Regions from separate parts of the Homo sapiens genome. Here region 1 is linked to region 2. Evidence: promoter capture Hi-C in human tissues and cell types (Jung and others, 2019). All regions are on one chromosome and are shown on one strand. The core of a region is centred on a gene start or on the middle of the fragment in contact, and the rest is flanking DNA. Distances in the headings are between cores, read along the strand shown.

Region 1 (3,284 bases), core at 743-3,242, 240 kb after region 2:
ATAGTCTCTACCTTTGAGGAACTTATATATTTTTGACAAAAATAAGTAGACTTAAATACCTACAAAGCAAGGAAGAAAATAAGTGCTATGTAAACGGCATAATGATCGACACCTAATAGTTCAAAGAAGTAAAAATTACTACCTGAGTGTGATGGGGAAGATTTTTTTAAAAGATAGTTGTATAAAAGTGAGCTTTAGGGATGTAACAAGATGTTAAAAGGAAAGCTTCAGCTAAGGCACATTCTAGAGCTATGTGTTGGACCAAAATGCAAACACTTTCAAAGTAGGTGGTAAAAAGGGGTGGAAGGGTTGGTAACTCTTTTTTTATTATTTTTTTCTTTGAGATGGAGTCTCTCTCTGTCATCAGACTGGAGTGTAGTGGCGTGGTCTCAGCTCCATGCAACCTCCTTCTCCTGGGTTCAAGCGATTCTCCTGCCTCAGCTTCCAAGTAGCTGAGACTACAGGCGCGTGCCACCACACCTGGCTAATTTTTGTATTTTCAGTAGAGACGGGGTTTCACCATGTTGGCCAGGATGGTCTCGATCTCTTGACCCCATGATCTGCCAGCCTCGACCCCCCAAAGTGCTGGGATTACAGGCGTGAGCCACCGTGCCTAGCCCTGGGTTGGTAACTCTTAAATGATTACCCACACTGATGGCGTAAAGGGATGCTGAATTGGAGATCAGGAAGACTTTTGAAAAGGATTTCTTTGGAGGGAAGTATTGGGTTCCAAGAATTCTATCCTTCTCATTATGGGGGAAAAAGGGGAGAGAAGAAGAGAGGAAAGGACAGGAGAGGAGAGGAGAAAGGGGGAGAAAGAGGGTGGGGGTGGGAAGGAGGGATATCTGCTCCTTAAATCAAACCAAAGGACAGAACTTTTATGGAACCATCCGTGGAGCTTAATATGTGTCTTCTAAAGTTTGAGGGACACAGGGGACTTCTGACTGGTTCATGCTTGAGAAATCTAAATCCAGAGTGCTGAGTTATGGGGAAGGGGCTGCATTCCCAGAGTTTTCCTGGACAAACATGTTTCCTATGGACCAGATGTGGCCCATGAGGGAAAGGGAGTTGTGTGGTGTTGCTTAGCCCGTGTTTATAATGACCTCCTGCAGGAGTGAGGAGCCTCAATACAGGAAAGCTGGAGATGAACTGCTGCTGGATACCTAAGGCTGCAGAAAGGTGGGGAAAAGGAAGAGTCTCAGAGCAACCCATGAAAATCCCTTAAAAGAGCAATCAGCTTTAAACATCTGCAAAGGCCAGAGAGCACCAACTTGATCACCTGCACAGCACCAGTCAACTAAGAACTTTGCTAGTACTCCTTCATTGATCTCCCTTCCTAAGCTCCAGATCCTAGAGTGGTCAGAATCAGCTTTAGAAAGATGGTAAAAGGAGAAGAATCATGAGATTATCCCCTAACCCACTTTCAAATTTCAGACTTCTAGCCTGTGGCCAGTACAAACTGGAGGAGAGGAGGAGAAACTTCAAGGTTAAGAATTATCATTCTTACCTATGACTGCCATTTTAATTCCTGATTTCCACCATGTTTTGTGACTTTAAAAATGGCTGAGTACCTTTAATATCTCTGAGGGGCAACCTCTGTTTTTTCCTAGGGTCAAGGAGAACAGCCCCTCAGTGGAGATGTAAAGAGACAGTCAAAAATGAATTTGCTTTAAGATTCCATTCTACCAGTTGTGTTTGTTTCATATAAACATTACAGATAGAAATAGGAAAATGGGTCTTGATAAAAGGAATCGAGGTAGCCAGATCCAAGGTCTATTTGGAAAAGGACACATAGAGAAAAACATCTATCTCTGGGATGGAAATAGTGGAAAATGTAGACGGGAAGCTGATTTAAAGGGCCTCCAGTACCAAACTGAAGGGTCATTTAAATACTGGAGTATAATTTCAGTGTATTTTGGTATTTCAGTATGTTTTGTATTGACATATTTTCAGTACTTGAGATCAGTAAAACTAAGTATTCAATACTTGTAATTATTTATTTCTTTACTTTAATTGACCAGTAAAAATTGTATGTATTTGTGGTATACAACAACATGATGTTTTAATATGTGTATACATTGTGAAATGGATAAATCAAGCTAATTAACCATCATCTAAATATCTATAATCTAAGATACTTTTTTTATGGTGAGAATATTTAAAATCTACTCTCAGCAATTTTCAAATATATAATATATTGTCATTAACTATAGTCAACAAAGTGAACAATATATCTTCTGAACTTACTCCTCCTGTCTACCTGAAATTTTGTGTCATTTGACTAATATCTCCCCAATCCTCCCATCCCTCAGCCTCTGGTAAGTACCACTTTATTCCTTATTTCTGTTAAGTTTGAGGTTTTTGTTTTTTTTTTTTAAAGAGATGGGGTCTCACTATGTTGCCCAGGCTGGAGTGCTTATCCTACCACTGATAAGCATGGGATATTTGACCTGCTCCATTTCTGACCTGGGCTGGTTCACCCCTCCTTAGAAAACCTAGCGGTCCCCTGCTCTCAAAAAGGTCACCTACTACTGATGCTGAACTTAGTGCAGACACCCTATTGGCATAGCACACTACAGCCCAGAACTCCTGGACTTAAGCAATCATCCTGCCTCAGCCCCTGGAGTAGATGGACTACAGGCATGTGCCACTTAACCACTGGCTAAGTTTGAGTTTTTAAATACTCCACATACGAGATTATGTGGTATTTGTCATTCTGTGCCTGACTTATTTCACTTAACAAAATGTCCTCCAAGTTCATCCATGTTGTCATAAATGAGAGGATTTTTTTTATTTTCTAAGGCTGATTAGTATTCCATTATGTACATATAACACATTTTCTTTATCCAGTCATCCTTTGATGGACACTTAGGTTGTTCCATATCTTGAACATTGTGAATAATGCTACAGTGAACATGGGATTGTAGGTGTCCCTTCAACATACAGATTTTATTTCTTTTGGATATAGACCCAGGAGTGGGATTGCAGGATCATATGGTACTGTAGTCCAATTTTTAATTTTTTGAGGAAGCTTCATACTGCTTTCTGTAATGGCTGTACCAATTTACATGCCCACCAACAGTGTACAAGGGTTTCCTTTTCTTCACATCCTCAACACTTATCTTTCATCTTTTTTGATAGTAGTCATTCTAACAAGTGTGATATATCTCATTGTGGTTTTGATTTGCGTTTCCCTGGTGATTAGTGGTTTTTGTTTTTTGTTTTTTGTTTTTTGTTTTGAGACGAGGTCTCGGTCTGTCACCCAGGCTGGAGTGCAGTGGTGT
Region 2 (3,274 bases), core at 775-3,274:
CAAACACATGAATATACAAATGAACCATAGTAATAAATGCCAAGAAGATAATAAAACATGGAAATGAGGAAGAAGGCAGCCGAAATGGAAAGCTACTTTGGTTGTGGGCAGGGTGTCAGGTAAAACCTTCCTAAAGCGACATTTTTATTAATACCGAAAGGATGATAAAGTAGCCACATAAATATCTGAACAGAGAACATTCCATGCAAAGGAATCTTTGGGTCTTTCTTCCACATTTGTAAAAACCAGGTTTAACAATTAATTACTGCATATGGATACATGTGTGAAGTGAAAGTCTATGATTATAAGGCATACAAAATTAGAAAGCCACTTCCTTGGTTCAACGTATCAATTATATCCATGCTAAAAATCGTAGAGGCTGCAATGCAAAGCCAATTTTCTACTGACATTCTTATCTTTATTCTAAGTGAAAAGAAAAGCTAATTAAATATTGTTATTTTTCTTAAATTGGTACTAAGGCTAAAAATAATCCTGAGTTGTCACCAAGGGCACTGGGTAGTCTTAGAAAGGTTTTAAGCAGAAGAGTTACATGTCTAGGTTTTTTTACATTAATACATTTGAATACTATGCAGCCAATAAAAACAATACTTATGAAAACTATAGAAAAGGTGGTAAATTTTAAAAATGAAAAACTATTGCATTAGAGCGGTAGGATTATGGATGGCTTTTCCTTCTTTCTTATTTTCTTAAATATTGTAAACAAGTTTTTGAAGAGAAAAGGACAATGCTCCGCTCTACGGAGACGAGTATTAGGATGAAGCAATACAAAAACTGAATCAAAGAACACAAATTTAGTTCACTTTAAGCCCCCAAAGGTAACTGTTTCTGTTATTTGCCGTTTGAGAGAAAGAACAAGCAAAAACAAACACACACACACAAAATCTTTATTGGAAAGATGAGGGGAAGAAGGTCAACAGGCAGTCTGAGCTTCACAAATATTGGCCAACAATTATTTATTGAATGCCTGCATTTGGAAGTGGGGATACAGCTATGAACAAGGCAGGATCTCAAAAAACAAAATCAGAAACACAGACATAAATGATGCCAGTGCTATGATGAATGCTAGGAAGAAACAATAATTAACAATAGATTACATGGTAAAAGCAAGAGGCTAACTAGACGAAACTTCTATTGAGCAGAGACAGTGTCTTACATGTTTTTACGCTCAGAGCTTTATATAATGGTCGATAAATGTTTGTTGACTGTACAAACAAATGAAGGTGGCCAATGGAGAAGAAATGAGGGTCAGAAAAACATCCGGAAAAGGTGGGTAACTAAGCAGAGGATAAAGGACGAGGTGTCAGTGCAAAAACGAAACCTTATACTTTCAAGCATAGGTATTACCTTATACTGATACTTTGAAGCAGCAAATTTCTCCACACCCGGATTCAGGATTTGACATCTAACAGCAAAGCCTGCACTGACGTGTCCTCAGTATCCAGTATTGGCGCGTCGCACACCGCGCGCCCAGAACCACACAGGCTTCCCCAGTCCAGGATCAGTTGGCGCAGCCCGGAAGCTTCGAGGAGCTCCTAGAACCGCCGCCTTAGCTGGCGGCGCCGGCTCTTAGCCTGGAGGTCGGCGGACCGCTTCCAAAAGTGGACCGAAATTCCGGGGATGGATGCCGGGTGGGGACGCGGACGGCCGCAGGCCAGCCTCCTGACAGCCGGGGCTGAGGGAACCGGCCGCAGCAAATCGCACACCCTCTCTGTGTGCCAGAGTGACTGGCGCAGGCCGCGTAAGAGAGGAGCGAGACCCCGGACCAGCCCGCACCGCGGAGGACCGGAGAGGGCGATTCGGTGAAGGGAGGCGGACGGGTGTCGGGGCGGGAGGCGGTGACTCACCTGGGAGGTAATCATGATGCTGGAGTCGATCAGGAAACTCATGGCGAAGTGTAAGGAAGGCTCCTGCCTCCACTTCCCACTCCCGGAGGCCACAGCACGCTGGGGCCACAGGCCCCCTCACACGGTCTGCCTTCTCCCAGGTGCTGCAGCCGGGACTGCGGCTCTCCAGCCCGACGCCGTCAAGCTGCGCCCCAGTCAGCCAATCAGCGGCTACATCCACAGCCCCGCCTCGGGCTCGGGGTGGGTGGGGCGGACGCTAGGCTTCCGCCGCGGAAGCCCCAGGGGCGGGGCTTATTAGGGGCGGTGCTAAAAGCAGCAATGCAAGGTAGCGTTAACGTTTCTGAGGCTGAAGGAGGTAGGGCCTGAGAGCTAAGTGGTAATTCTGTTTTGTAATGATCCTAAGATAATAATGGTAATTATAGTAAGTCGGGCATTGTGTCCTAAATGTTATAACTTTTACTTGACTCGGCAAATATGACTGTACAAAGTGAGGGAAGACTGGAAAGTCAGATGAGATATGAACAAATATAACTAACCAAATACATTTCTGTGACAACAATGAAAAGCACACTGTCTGTAGCAATTTAGTGATAATATTGTACTGCATATCAGTCAGGCCACAGGTGGAGTACTGCACTCCATGTACCACACTTTGAAGAGATTTTACAGGCCGGGCCGGCTCACACCTGTAATCCCAGCACCTGGGGAGACCAAGGCGGGCGGATCACCTGAGGTCGCAAGTTCAAAACCAGCCTGACAAGCATGGAGAAACCCTGTCTCTACTAAAAATACAAAATTAGCCGGGCGTGGTGGTGCATGCCTGTAATCCCAACTACTAGGGAGGCTGAGGCAGGAGAATCGCTTGAACCCGGGAGGGGAGGTTGCGGTGAGCCGAGATCGCGCCATTGCACTCCAGCCTGGGCAACAAGAGCGAAACTCCATCTCAAAAAAAAAAAAAGAAAAGAAAAAAGAAGAGAGAGATTCTACAGAGACATATTGGAGCTCGCTCAAATGTGAGCCACCAGATAAGGGCTGCTGGAAGGAGGCGAAGAAAGATGACTCAGAACATGACATCTGTCTTCATGTGAAAGAATGGGTAGAACTGATGTGGCACTACGAATTATCTGTAGGGCAAAGGACTGGAAGTTAATTGAAGATAGATTTTAATTCAAAACAAGGATCAGTTCTTTAAGAGTCTGAAGAAGGGTTATTTTAGGAAGTAGCTGCCTCTGCCCCCTTCCCACCTGTTGCAGTGGATCAAATATACACTGAATCACTACCTCATTCATTCAACACTCATTTCATGAAGGCTTAACGCATTGCTGTGGGGCTTACTCTGCCGCCGACCTGGGGCCTAGCTAGGCTTTGTAGTCTATATAGTCTCATAGTCCTGCAAACTGGCTCCAGCC

What was found. Contacts are between HindIII fragments. The study calls those that stand out against the background at their distance.
Region 1: a contact is called between a fragment that was not itself captured here and the fragment with the promoter of GPR89B in region 2, in 1 of the 25 tissues and cell types used here (hippocampus).

What each region holds. Positions count from the first base shown.
Region 1 is chr1:147,688,632-147,691,915 of GRCh38, reverse strand. It overlaps the pseudogene RN7SL261P. Among named protein-coding and RNA genes, the nearest start is that of ACP6, 20 kb to the right of the region's middle. The HindIII fragment of the contact is 4,430 bases long and covers 1-3,284 here.
Region 2 is chr1:147,927,170-147,930,443 of GRCh38, reverse strand. It overlaps GPR89B (G protein-coupled receptor 89B), which reads right to left and starts at 2,024. Exons shown (of 14, transcript NM_016334.5): 1 at 1,866-2,024. The coding sequence starts at 1,907. It overlaps LOC105371229 (a long non-coding RNA gene), which reads left to right and starts at 2,126. Exons shown (of 3, transcript XR_922074.4): 1 at 2,126-3,274. The HindIII fragment of the contact is 5,422 bases long and covers 516-3,274 here.